Linked DNA regions of Homo sapiens: region 1 is linked to region 2. Evidence: promoter capture Hi-C in human tissues and cell types (Jung and others, 2019). All regions are on one chromosome and are shown on one strand. Each heading gives the region's core, a stretch centred on a gene start or on the middle of the fragment in contact. The rest is flanking DNA. Distances are from core to core; before and after follow the strand shown. Region 1 overlaps SGSM2 (small G protein signaling modulator 2). Region 2 holds the start of CLUH (CLUH binding protein of NUMT mRNA).

What was found. Contacts are between HindIII fragments. The study calls those that stand out against the background at their distance.
Region 1: a contact is called between a fragment that was not itself captured here and the fragment with the promoter of CLUH in region 2, in 2 of the 25 tissues and cell types used here (dorsolateral prefrontal cortex and spleen).

What each region holds. Positions count from the first base shown.
Region 1 is chr17:2,378,890-2,386,112 of GRCh38, reverse strand. It overlaps SGSM2 (small G protein signaling modulator 2), which reads right to left. Exons shown (of 24, transcript NM_014853.3): 23 at 6,910-7,077; 24 at 5,059-6,681. The coding sequence ends at 6,593. It overlaps MNT (MAX network transcriptional repressor), which reads left to right. Exons shown (of 6, transcript NM_020310.3): 6 at 1-2,040. Among named protein-coding and RNA genes, the nearest start is that of MNT, 19 kb to the left of the region's middle. RefSeq lists enhancers at 1-130, 3,083-3,292. The HindIII fragment of the contact is 4,866 bases long and covers 1,070-5,935 here.
Region 2 is chr17:2,709,370-2,715,712 of GRCh38, reverse strand. It overlaps CLUH (CLUH binding protein of NUMT mRNA), which reads left to right and starts at 3,949. Exons shown (of 26, transcript NM_001366661.1): 1 at 3,949-4,151. The coding sequence starts at 4,052. It overlaps LOC105371592 (a long non-coding RNA gene), which reads right to left and starts at 3,404. Exons shown (of 2, transcript NR_136412.1): 1 at 3,314-3,404; 2 at 2,880-3,231. RefSeq lists enhancers at 2,684-3,579, 3,580-4,476, 5,311-5,390 and silencers at 3,641-3,820, 3,951-4,070. The HindIII fragment of the contact is 23,363 bases long and covers 1-6,343 here.

The DNA.
Region 1 (7,223 bases), core at 2,253-4,752, 330 kb after region 2:
CGTCCCCTGCAGCCTGGGTCTGGATGGGAGGAGAGCCACTGGGCCCCTGTCCCCAGTCCCCAGTCCCCAGCCCTGGGCTTGGCTCTTGGCTTCCAGAAGGCAGCAAAGAGGGGCGCTGTCCTGCGTTCAGCCCCTGATCTCTGACCTCTGCTGAGTGCTGGGCACTGCTCCAAGGGACAGGTGGGCCTGGCGGCCTGTGGGTTTGGGTGCCTCCTGCAGTTTGGGAGACATGGACCAGCATCTGGTCTTGTTTCCAGGAGCATAGAAGCCACATCGTTGAGACATCAGGAAGGTAAAAACCCAGCGGCTTAGCCAAGCCCTAAGCCTGTCCCCAGACCAACCCTGGGACCTATACAGAACAGAGGGCCAGAGCTAGGGCTGCTGCTTCTGCTCCAGCCCCTTTGCCTCTGTCCTCCCATCCCCTCAACACCCTGCTTCTCCCGGGGACGCTTTTGAGTGGGCCCTGCCCGGGGAGCTGCAGAGCAGCAGCACCTTTCTCTGAGAAGAGGTCCTTGGTTGGGTCAAGGACAGGGCTGAGCGTGGAAGGGGGAGGAGTCAGGGGCTCTGTGTTAGGATGCGGCTTTCTCTGCCTCTGGGCAGCCTGCTTTGGCCTTTCCTTGTATGTGGGTGTTTATTACAAGTGGCTTTGTGTCAGACACGCTCGGCTCCCCACCTGGACACACACTCACCAGTGGCCTTTCAGTGTAGCGGGAGGAAGCCGGTGTCCCTGGATGTGAAGCTCACACTGATGGGCTGGGGCAGGGGCCTGGGCCGGCGAGGGGGCCGGGGGGAGGGGACAGAGCTGAGGATTTCCTGGAGTGCCCTGCAGGCACAGAGGAGGTCAGCAAAGGTCTTGAATAGATTTTCTCTGGAAATAAAGAATCCTTAGATGCCTAAAAATTCCCTTCCTGTTCCCTCCTGGTCCTGGACACCTCCCAGGGGACTGTTCCTTATTTCTCTCTCCTGGTGTGGGTAAAGGGACAGTTACAAACCAGGTCACCATCCTCAGAGGCTGAGCCCTGTACCCACCCCAGCACAGCCACCTCCGCCAGACCCCGTGGCTCTGGGAGAGCCAGCTTTGCTATTCCCATTGTGACAGCGATGGCAGGCCTGACCCACGGGGCAGTTAGAGCAGCCTCGTGGAGCTCGCCCCTCCCCTCAGCCTGCCCACCTCTCCCTGCATCCTGAGGCCAGTGGCCCCCGGGCCTGCACAGATACCTCATCATCCACCCGCTGCCCCTCCCCGTCCCTGTCCCCCAGCATCGGGGGCCTGCAAATCTAGTGCCGAATGACTATGTCCAGATTGGTGACGATGGGTGTTGCTGTTTTTCTTGTCGTTTGTGAACGCTGTGATGCTGTGTGCCCAAGTGGGCAGTCACCACCCAGCCCTTCCTTGGGCGTCTCCCCCAGAGTGCTGTCGGGACCACATCTGTCCTCACCCTGTGGGACCGCCTGGCCCTCCCTCCCTAGCCCTTCCAGCCTGGGACACACACACACACACACACACACACACACGCACGCACACGCACACATCTTACCTCTCATGCGTGTTTTACCTTTTGATGTTCAGAGTGGCTCACTGGCTGGGAGTCCTTACCTCGGGGAGAGGGGGAGGTTGGTTCCTTGGGGGGCCAAAGAAGGCAGGGAATGCCTGGAGGGTAACTGGGGGGCCACCATGACCCCTTCTCTCTCCAGAAACAGCTGCTTCTCCCCCCATCCCAGGGTCCCACCCCCAACCCCCAGAGGTGGCCCTTGTTTACAGTGAGGACTCGGCCACTGTGTCTCTGTTTCCTGAAATATAAACTGTAGCGACCCCAGACTGTAGAGATTTTTATGTGTTTGGATACATCTGCTGTGTGGAAAAAAAAAAAAACTACAAAAACCCTAATTTTGTACATACTGTATTTTTACTATTGAACTGTATTCTAGTGGCTGTTCATGCTCCAAGACTTTAGTTACCGAGACATGAATACTATCCATGTAATAAGCACTTGCCTGGAATAAAATATAAAACTGAAATAAACCTGCACTGAAACCTGAGATGGAGCTGCCAGCCTGCAGCATCTGGGTCATTTTATTGCAAAAGGAGGCTGAGGCCTGTAGGGAAGCATGTGGCAGGAGCGGTGAGATCACCTGTCTCGACCCTGTCTGCCCAGCATAGTCCTCAAGCGGCTCTGACCCGGTGCCTCCGCCGCTCTGAAAATGGCAGTTCTGGTCGGTCTGAAACTTTTGCAAAGCTTCGTATTTCCTCAGACCATTTTACAAGCATTATCTTGTTTCATCTTTCAACAGCCAAGTGAAGTAAATAAGCCAGACTTAGCCCCATTTTGGCAGATAAGGAAACAGGATTGAGGTGGCCCAGTGACTTGTTGAGGCCACACGGCTAGCTGGAGACTTCGTTGGAGCTGCAGTCAGACCTCTGAACTGGGTACAGAGTTCTTACCCAGCATCTGCCACCCTTGTGGCACCTGGGGCCAGTCCTAGACTCGGATCCAATAAAAAAGGTACAGGGGAGTTGCCCCAGGGATTGGGCACAGAGGGTGAGAGCTTCCTGAGGGGCTGCTCTGGGGGTGCAGTTACAACAGGTCAGCCGGGGAGTCCATAAAGCTGTCCTCTAAGGGAAAGGAACAAGGGGAAGAAGAGGCTGGAGGTCAGGGGCAAAGAGCCGTGTTCTCAGCTGGGCTGGAAGCCCCTTGTCCCTGTGGCTGTGTCTTCTCTCCCTGGGCAGGCTGTCATGGGAGGAGGTGGTGTGGGAAGTGAGGTCAGGGAGCCACTAGCTAGGCCTTGCTGGAGACCAGGCTGGGCAAGGGGGCCCAGCTTCTCATTTCCACCCTGACAGTACCTGACTGACTCCCAGTCCCCACAGGGGAGACTGACTCTGCGTCTCTTCCTGAGGTGGGGTGGGTAGGGGTTATCCTTGAGGAAGGGAGTGCTGTCTTGGGTCCTGTTTTCTGAAAGAGAAGAGTTGACTTCAAAAAGTTCAGGCCGGGCACGGTGGCACACGCCTGTAATCCCAGCACTTCGGGAGGCTTAGGTGGGCAGATCACCTGAGGTCTGGAGTTCGAGACCAGCCTGGCCAACATGGCAAAAACCCTTCTCTACTAAAAATACAAAAATGAGCCGGGCATGGTGGTGCATGCCTATGATCCCAGCTACTCAGGAGGCTGAGGCAGGAGAATCACTTGAACCCGGGGGGTGGAGGCTGCAGTGAGCCGAGATTGCGCCACTGCACTCCAGCCTGGGAGACAGAGCGAGACTCTGTCTCAAAAAAAATTTTTTTAATTAAAATGAAAGTTCGGAATCCAGCCCTCCCTACTGAGCCTGCCCTTTTTACTTGTGAGACGCGGGCTCCCTCTGCTGGTAGCTCCTGGAAGAGCTGGGTCACTTCCATTAGCTCACTAAGCGACGCTTTAGGGAAGGGATAGGGTGAGGGTTAACCCTTCCTGGGTGCATGCTCAGTGCCAGGCCCTGTGCCCACTGGGAACACAGATGAAGACCCTCCCCAGGCAGTGATAACTTGGCTGTCATCTGAGGGCTGTCACTAAATCTTTAGGCAGAAGCTGTACTCAAAGCTCCCCCTCACCCACAGTTCTCACTCACCCATGGCTCAGCTGGAGCTTATAAGAAAGGGGCCTGTGGTCAGGATAAAGTATGAATCCAGGTGCTTCCATTTACCAGCTCCTGCTCTGTAAGAGGAAGACCTGACTTTCCAGATTGCAAAGGTTCCTTGAGATGGTGTTTGGAGAGCCCACTGTGCTGCTTGCTCTTCCCGCCCCAGCTGTCCCATCGTTTTGAAAAGCTGTGGGATCCCCTCTGGTCCCAGGATCCCAGTCCAGTAGTCAGGGGGAGTAGGGCAGGACGGAAGTGTGTGAAGGGTTACTCCCAGGCTAGGTGAAATTTCCTTTAGGTGGTCACAGCAAAGGAATTCTGACTCCTCCAGGCAACAGAGTCGGCTGGCGGGTCGGGGGTGTTCCCCTGAAGGGCTCATCAAGTTCCCTGGCCCCAGAGCTCTCTCTGCACCAACTGGTTTCTTTGGGTAGCTCTGGCCACTAGTTTGCACTCTTTCCTAAAAGCTGGGTTCAGGGCCAGATGCAGTGGCTCAAGCCTGTAATCCCAGCACTTCGGGAGGCCAAGTGGGTGGACTGCTTGAGGCCAGAGTTCAAGACTAGCCTGAGCAACAGTGAGCCTCTGCCTCTACCAAAAAGATAGAAAAACTGCCATGATGGGGGCCTGCATCCCTGGCTACTTGGGAGGCTGAGTTGGGAGGATCGCTTGAGCCTAGGAGTTCAAGGCTGCAGTGAGCCATGATCATACCATTGCACTCCATTCTGGGAGAGATAGCAAGACTCTGTGTCTGTCTATCTGTCTGTCTCTCTCTCTGTATAATAAAGCTGGGTTCAGCCTGCTAGGACCATGGGCTGGGGTCTTCAGCTTTGAGTGAGTGGAAAACAGGCCCTAATGTCCAGGAAGCCAGTGTCCTCTAGGGTAGAAGACATGTTGTGTGACTGGTGTCTTCTCCCTGGAGCCATCGACGATGGGACCAGTAGCACTCGGGTTGGGGAAGGGCAGGAAGAGAGGTGCAGACCCGTTACAGCTGGGCCTGTCTATAGCTCAGCAGGGTCTGACTCCTCCTGACACTCCCCTCCGGCCTCTCAGACAGTGCTCGGGGTGAGAGCCACACCCACAGGGGCAGCTCCGTTGCCATCAGCTGCAGTGGCATAGTCAAGCTCCAGCTTCTCATTGCAGCCTGGTCAGTAGGGCAGGCAGGGGGTAGGGATGGGACAGGGACCTTCTCTCATCCACAGGCTAGAGGGGCCACTGGTCATCGTGAGATGGGGCCATGACTCTGGGGTGAGGTCCCCTCAAGGGCGCTGAGTACTTGAGGTTTGGCTATCAAATCACCCTGACTTCCTGACCAGCCCACACCCTCCAGACTGGCGGCTGGAGTACCTCTCTTGGAAACTTTAGTTTTTTGCCGTCCTCGCCTTTTGGGGCTGGCCGACTGTGGAGCTTAAAGAAGGCACGTGGTCTCTCAGTGTCCAGTCCCAGAGGCTCCAGTGTTGACAAATGTTGTTTATTGGTCTGTTACACAGAAGAGTATAGTTTCTGAGGCAAAAATCATACACACTCTGCTCCTCACAAAACCACGGAGTCACTAAGGCAGGCACACAATGGCCACACGTGCTTGGTGGAGGCCAAGGACTCACGGACAACAAGGATGGACAATGGGGTGGTCTGGCCCCCAGACAGGCTGTGCAGTGCCCGGGGGCAGGGCTGGGCTGGGCAGGCTGTGCTGGGTGCAGAAGGGCTGCGGGGCCCTTTGTCATGTTTCTCAAATGCAGAAAGTCTGCCAGACTTTGGTGGCTGCTGGACTAGGCCCCAGCCCCGGGCAGGGCCTCCATGTTCCAGGGCAAGGCCTAGCCTGCATGTGTTGGGGTAGAGGAGGAAGTGGGGATGGCCGAGCAAGCAGCATGCCTAGGCCTGGGGGCAGGAGCTATGCCCTTCCTGGCACCCCCGCATACACAGCTCCTCCAAGGGGGTTTCTGGGTTCCTAGGCCTCTTGGCATCCTGAGAAGCATGTGGAAGGCAGAGCTAGCCTTGCTTCTCACCAGGGACAGATGGGGACACCCATGCATCCCCTGCCTCCCGCAGTCTCAGGGACATGGCAGATGTCTGCGACAGATAATGGGCTGCCCTCGAACTGAGGCCTGTCTCTGAGGGGAGGCTGTGACCGGATTCTTCCCCGACAGAGTCACCCTGGGATTCCTCAGAGCAAGTGCTCCGGTCGCATTCCAGATCATCCACTGGCAAAAGCATCACTTCTTACACGTGGTTTTCAGGGAAGTACCTAATGCAGAACGCAAGGGTGGGGTGGCAGGAGCGAGGCTGTACAGATACACAGAGGTACACTGTACAAGGCCGGGGAGGCCTGGGGGTCACCTCAGGTGGCCAAAGGCAGTGGCAGTGCTGCTGAAGTGGGCTGCTCCCACCCAGGGCCCACATCTTCCGACTGCCCCAGAATCTCGGGGGAGCGGCCTGAAGGCGGCCCGGGTCTCCCGTGCCCGGGTCTCCCGCACCCGTGACGTGTGCCTAAACCAGAAGCAGTTTTGGTTGCTCCAGCTGGGGCTGGTGCACGCACAATATACTGGGACTGCAAAGGGACCCTCAGAAGGGACACAGCACAGAGCCTCTCGCCCTCTGCCACCCCAGCTGAGTAGGGCCCAGGCCGCTATAGCCCCTGTTAATCCTGTGGGGCCCCAGGTTCACTCGTGGGCAGCAGTCCAGGCTGCGGCTGCAGGTGGCAGTGGGGCTACTCCCAGATGTGTGAGAGGGGAGCAGAGTAGGTGTGTCCCCCAAGGCAGCTGCTCCCTGAGGCTGACCCCTCCCATCCCGGCCCTGATCCGAGGGCATCCTGGCCCCTGACTTGCCCTGCAGGGTCAGCACTGCCGGGAGTCGGATCCAGGCTCACAACCGCTTTGTTAGGAACAGAGGTGGGGTCGGTTGGTGGCTGGGGAGGTCTGGGCGGTGACTCCCCTGCACCTCTCCCTGCCGGAGCCCAGGCTCTGCACGGCTGCTGCCTCCTGGCCCCAGCTCACTTGTTCTCTATGAGCATCTGCACCTTGTGGACGAGGTCCCGGGCAATCCGCAGGATCTCCTGGGCATCGTGATGCTCAGCACGTTCTGGGGGGAAACGTGAAGAGCTGTAGAGAGGCCCAGAGAAAGGGCAGCAGGCTAGGAGGTGGCTGACTACCCTGCTCTGTTTCCATCTGCTCTGCTAGATTCTTGACATCCCGGCCTTTGGGGAAGGGCCCCCAGGATTCCTGAGAACCCTCCAGCTGTGTGCGGGGCAGAGGTGGGGGCCTCCACACCTCTGCTCAGGGCAGCCTGGATGGCTGGACCAGCTCGTACCATTGAAAAACTTGATGATGTCAGTGAAGTCCATGTTGTTGTCACGGATGATCTCTCGGTAGGCCTCCACCAGGGCGAGGGCGATGAACAGGACAAAGTGCTCCGATGAGATGTGCCTGGCTGCCCAGATCACCTCCCACACAGCAAACACATCCTCATACAGCAGTTCTGCGGAGAGTAAGCGGCTGCTGCTCACCCGTCCTAGCCGCATATCTGGGGCTGAGGCTGGGATTGAGGCTGAGGCTGGGATTGAGGCTGGGGCTGAGGCTGAGGCTGAGGCTGGGGCTGGGGCTGATGCTGGCCGGACTGGCTGC
Region 2 (6,343 bases), core at 2,700-5,199:
AAATAAATAAATAATGGGGGGCTCAAAGGTGAAACCCCAGGCTGCCAGCAATGCTGCCCCCCCACATCCTGTGGAGCCCTCAGGGCCTGGCACCTTCTACACTGAAATCATTCACTCAGTCAACAAATGTGCATTAAGTGGGGTATGGTCGTGTGCACCTGTAATCCCAGCTACTCAGGGAACTGAGACGGGAGGGTCACTTGAGCCCATAAGTTGGAGGCTTCCGTGAGCCGTGATCATGCCACTGCACTCCAGCCTGGGCAACAGAATGAGACCCTGTCTCTAAAAATAAAATTAAAAATAAATAAATGTGCATTAAACACCTACCATGCATTGGGCTCTGGAAAGATGCTGGGAACACCCAGATAAATAAGTTATGGTTCTTGCCTTCAAGAAGTCCCCAGGTCGGCCAGGCGCGGTGGCTCATGCCTGTAATCCCAGCACTTTGGGAGGCCAAGGCGGGCGGATCACGAGGTCAGAAGTTCGAGGCCAGCCTGACCAACATGGTGAAACCCCATCTCTACTAAAAATACAAAAATGAGCCGGGCATGGTGACGCATGCCTGTAATCCCAACTACTTGGGAGGCTGAGGCAGGGAATCACTTGAATCCGGGAGGTAGAGGTTGCAATGAGCTGAGATCACGTCACTGCACTCCAGCCTGGGCGACAGAGCAAGACTCCATATCAAAAAAAAATAAAAAATAACAAAGTCCCCGGGTCTAGCAGCTGGACTCCTCACCCAAGACCCAGACATCCCAGTATGGCCAAGAGGGTCTCAATTTATGCCTATTGCCCCTGTGTCATTATTAATAGGTTCCACTTGCACTCTCAAAAGTGTTCTGGTTTTAATGATAAACTATGCGATCACCTTAACCATAGCACATTGTTATAGGCAATGGTGGAAATAGCTGGGGAAAATGGGAGTATGTGCTGTTAAGACTATGATGGAGGCCGGGTGCGGTGGCTCACGCCTGTAATCCCAGCACTATGGGAGGCCAAGGTGGGCAGGTCACCTGAGGTCAGGAGTTCAAGACCAGCCTGGCCAACATGGTGAAACCCCCTCTCTACTAAAAATACAAAAATTAGTCGGGCATGGTGGCGGGCGCCTGTAGTCCCAGCTACAAGGGAGGCTGAGGCAGGAGAATCGCTTGAACCCGGGAGGCGGGGTTGCAATGAGCTGAGATCTTGCCACTGTTCTCCAACGTGAGCTACACAGCGAGATGCTGTCCCAAAAAAAGACTATGATGAAAAGACTTTGGTGGAAGCTGTGTGAAAGCAAGAATCAGTCTGCTTAATGTGTGGTCAGAGGTCAGACCACCAGACTATGGAGAATGTGATCAGAGGATGATTTTTTTTTCTTTTCTTTTCTTTCTTTGCTTTCTTTTTTTTTTTGAGACAGGGTCTTGCTCTGTCGCCCAGGCTGGAGTGCAGTGGCGAGATCCTGCAGCCTCAACCTCTTGGGCTCAAGTGATCCTCCTACCTCAGCCTCCTGAGTAGCAGGGACTATAGGCGCACACCACCACACCCAGCTAATTTTTGTATTTTTTGTAGAGATGAGGTTTTGCCATATTGCCCAGGCTGGTGTCCAACTCCTGAGCTCATACAATCTGCTCTCCTCGGCCTCTCAAAGTGTTGGCATTACAGGCGTGAGCCGCCGCACTCGGCTGGATGATGCTTTTTATACGTGTCTGTTTCTCTAACCCCAGGCTTGCTGCTCTTCCCCAACCCCCAGGGTTAAAACTGAGCTTCCTATTATGAGTAGCATTAGCAACATGCACGGGCTTCCAACTTCAGCTGCACTGGGCCACTAGGCACAATTCTCAAAAACCCTGGAGTTTCATGAATACAAACTAAGTACCCATCAGTCAGGTGACCGGCTAAAAGAATTATGGTACAACCAAACAATACAACATTATCCAGCGTAAATGGAATGAGAACACCTACTGAAAGCGTGTAAAAAAAAAATCAGAGTGAAGAATAGCAGGTACAATTTTCTGCACATTTGTGTAACAAAAGAGGAACGAGTGTGTGTATACACATACGTATATACACACGCACACATAAGTATGTATGTGTATATATACACACATATATACACACTTTTATATATATTGATTATAAATATATATATTTTATATATACACTTATATATATACACACTATATATATACACACACTATATATATACACACTATATATACACACTATATATATATACACACACTATATATATATATGCACACTTTTTTTTTCTTTTTTTGAGACGGAGTTTCTCTCTTGTTGCCCAAGCTGGAGTGCAATGGCGCGATCTCGGCTCACCGCAACCTCCACCTCCTGGGTTCAAGCGATTCTTCTGCCTCAGCCACCCGAGTAGCTGGGACTACAGGCGCACACCACCATGCGCAGCTAATTTTTGTATTTTTAGTAGAGACGGGGTTTCACCATCTTGGCCAGGCTGGTCTCTAATTCCTGACCTCGTGATCCGCCCGCCTCTGCCTCCCAAAGTGCTGGAATTACAGGCGTGAGCCACCGCGCCCGGCTTTTTTTTTTTTTTTTTTTTTGAGACGGTGTCTGTGTCACCCAGGCAGGAGTGCAGTGGTGCGATCATAGCTCACTGCAGCTTGGAACTCCTGGGCTCAATCTGAGCCGTCCTGAGTGATACTCCCAGCTCAGCTCCCAAGTAGCTGGGACTACAGGCGCGTGCCACTACACCTGGCTTTTTTTAAACAATATTTTTTGTAGAGACGGGGGTTTTGAAATGTTGCCCAGGTTGGTCTCAAACTTCCGAATCCTGAACTCAAGTCATCCGCCTGGCTTCGGCCTCCCAAAGTGCTAGGATTACAGGCGTGAGCCGCTGCACCGCCCGGCCGAGAAGAATCTTACCAGTTCTCATCTTCCTTCCTCCCGTTTAAATGCTCACATCAAGTCGCTGGCTTTCCTCACCACGTGCTCTCCAGAACAAGGTCGGCTTTCCTTCGCAATTTGTGCGAGGCCCTACCTAAGGCCCTCCCAGCCCACCTCGGGAAGCTGAAGCTTTCCAGTTCTCATTAGAGCTTGACAAACGCTCCGAAGGTTATAGGCCTCGGGTGCTTCCCAAAGGCCCCCTGCGGCCTGGCCAGGAAAGACCCACCGGCGCTCTCTGCCTGGAGCACTTCAACTCACTGCAAGACCTGGTCCCAATGTCCCCTCTGCAGCATTCTCTGACCTCACCGTTCCGTCCCCGCCAAGCCCCTGCCAAGTGAAAAATACGAGTTAAAGCGTCCTGGCTGTGGATGGAGTCAGACCCGGCTCTACCCCTTGCTCTCTGTGTGACCTTGGTCTCGGCCTCCTCCACTGTAAAATGAGGACACCAGCCTGGAGGTGAGGACCCATGGGTCGAGGACGCGGGTAGGGAGCCCGTTCTGGCTCGGGGCAAAGTTTGGCGGGTCCATTCTGACTCTTGATCCCCATTAGCCACGTCTCGCCCTCGCCTCTCGTGCCCGTGCCCTAAGCGACCCTCCACTCCCTCAATAATCCAGCCGCACCCATTCGGCGGGAAAGGGCCTGCCGGGTGGGGAGGGCGCTGAGGGTCACGCGAACACCGCAGATGACAGACTGCGCGGTCATTTAGCAAATCTGCAAGAGAAAACAGGGGATCCTTGGAGAGGGGAGGATTAGCCATGGCAGAACCAGACCAGTCTCCACCCAAGGTCACAGTGCCCGCCCGACGGGCAGCGAGCAGCAGGGAGTCTCCCCGAGGCCCCGCCCCGCGAGGGCGCCCAGCCTCCCTGGGCCTTGAGTCAGAGTGCGTTGCCTTTAAGACGTTCTGGAAAGTCACCGCGTCCGTGGGCGGGGAACCAGGCGCGGCGCGTTTTGTCCCTCGCGGGCCGCCGTGGGCTGGGCCGGGCGCGAGGGTGGGGCAGGGAAACGGCGGCGGGGTCAAAGGCCACGGCGCGCACCACGTGGGCCGGTGACTCCGTCCTTCCCTCAGCAGCCGCGGCGCGCAGGGCACTTGGGTTAGTGGCGCGGCGGGCGGCGCGGACAGCCGAGGCGGACGCCCGCTCCCGCCACCATGGTTATCAAGACGGACGAGTTGCCGGCGGCCGCCCCGGCCGACAGCGCCCGGGAACACGGCTCGCAGGCCGGGGGCAAGGGGCGGCCGGGCGCGGCCGGTGAGCGGGGCCAGGGCCAGCGGGCCGCTGGGCGGGGGGCGCCGGACCAGGGCGGGCGGGTTCGGGACTCCGCGGGGATCGCCGCCTTCCCTCCGCGTCGGGCCCGGTTGTATCTCGCTGGGGCCTTCACCGGGTCGCCCCCGCGCTGAAGGTCACCTTCACAGTCGCCCCCGGCTGCGGCCCGGGTTTCGCACGTGCGGTCCCGTGGAGGGCAGCCTCGGCTGGCACCCTCGGCGGGCACACGCGCGCCTCATCGCGGGGACACGTGCGCGCACACGCGGTTTCGGGGTGCGCCGCCGCCGCAGACCGAAAGAATCGGCGGCCCCACCCCCTCTGCGCCCGAGCATGGGAGCTCTCTGAGCTGGGGTCGCTCCGACGTTTGCGGGACAGCCCCCTTCGGCACCTGCTCCGCGGCGGCCTCCCAGGCATCCCCTGTGCGCAGGGCTGCAGCCCTGGGAGTGAAGCTCCGCTCGAGGCTTCCCAGGCTTGGTTTGTGGGAAGAGCACGAGGTGCGGGGTGTGCGTTGTGAGGGGCGTCCCTGGTTCATGCCCTGAGGCCAGGCTATAACCGCAGGTCTTCAGGCTGTGGCGGAGACTCTCAGGTGTGTTGGCCTGCTCGGCCGACCTGGTGTAGGGGGCGTCTGCCTTTGCATGGGGCAGAGCCAAACTCCTTGGCAGGGGGAAGTGTTTGTGCCAGAACTTGATCATTAACCTGCCTTATTGCGAAAAGTGGGTCAGACCAGAGTTGCTGTTTTTAAGGCAAAGGTCGTTAGTGTGGAGTCAAGCTCCCAGCGATCCCCCATGGGGGCTGTATGGTGGTGACTGTGGCAGTGGCTGCAGCTTGTCTCGGGTGGGGCCTGCTTTCCCTTTCTCCTGAGCCCCTTCTCTTCCTTCTGTTCCCTCCACCGTGTCTCAGACTCCAGCCTTGGGGCTGGAATCCCCTTCCCAGGCCCTCAGTCGTCATCTTCCTCAGGCCCTCTTTGCTCTGGGTGGCAGTGGAGGTGCAGAGCTACTCCTGTCCCCCAGTCCCTCCCTCCTCCGTCGACTGTCCTCAGTTGGGACTTGTGGTCTTAACGCCTCATCATCTCCCTTCCTAGCTTCAGTGAGTGCGCCAGGGCTGACTTGGGAATCAGGATGGGGACAGCGTTCAGCCCTCTGACCCTGTTCCCATCATAGCGGAGTTGCCTTGGGGTGAGGGACAGGTGCTGGGGCAGTACTGCTGATTGTCTAGACAAGGCCAAGGTTTGGGCAGAAGAGCAGATGCTCATCGCCCCAACCTACCAGGCTTTGTGCTGATGTGGCTCTGAATCAGTGGGGGCAGGCTGGATGAGAGGAGGTTGGCTGATTTCCCCTCTAGCAGAGACCCGAAGAGTCGAAGTGACTTGCCCAAGGTCACACAGCGATTTAGCTGTTAAGGGAAGTGTTTGGATTCCAGCTCATGGCCAGCAAGCCAAGGCTGCCGTGGCCTGGCCCAGAGGAAGCTGGGACAGGCGTGTTGGTTTGGATCCCGTGCTGAGAACTAGGGGGCTGACGAGCGTCTGTTGGAGGATTTCTGTGAGGGAGTCAGTGAAGCCCCTTCCTAACTCTGCTGGGGGTGGGGGGGCTCTGTCGGGGGTAAACTGAGTCAGGGAAGGGCACAGCTATTTGTTTTGGGGAAACTGGGAGCATACTCGTGGGCAGGACATGGGCTCCTACGTCCCTGGGAAGGTAGTACAGCTAGCTAGGACTTACGTTACAGCCAGCCCGGATCTATTGAAAGAAGGAAGGAGCCTTAATGAAGACCCCCCAGCTGGGGCCCACCTGAGCATCAGAACCAAGGCTTCTGACCTCTGAGATCCAGCTCTGGAAGGCTCTTCAGCCCCCTTAGGAAGGAGCTGATCTAGGCCATTGAGGGTCGGGGGCAAGGGTTGGTTACCTTCCTGGGAATACAGCGGCTTTTAGGGGTTAAGAGAACAGGCAGGTTTTTCAGGTCCACAGTGGTGCGTCAGGTTCCTTCTGCCCAGGGGAGGGCTCCCTGGAGTTGAGGCCCAGAGGGGGAGGAGGAGGAGGCTGGCAGCTGGGGAAGGAGTCTAGGGGCTTATGGGAGCTCCGCAACAGGATCTTGGATGGGATGTGGGGAGAGCAGCCTGAGGAACTCTGAACTGTCCTCAGGCCCTGAACGCCTGCCTCTGGCCTGGGTGGGACAGGAAGGAG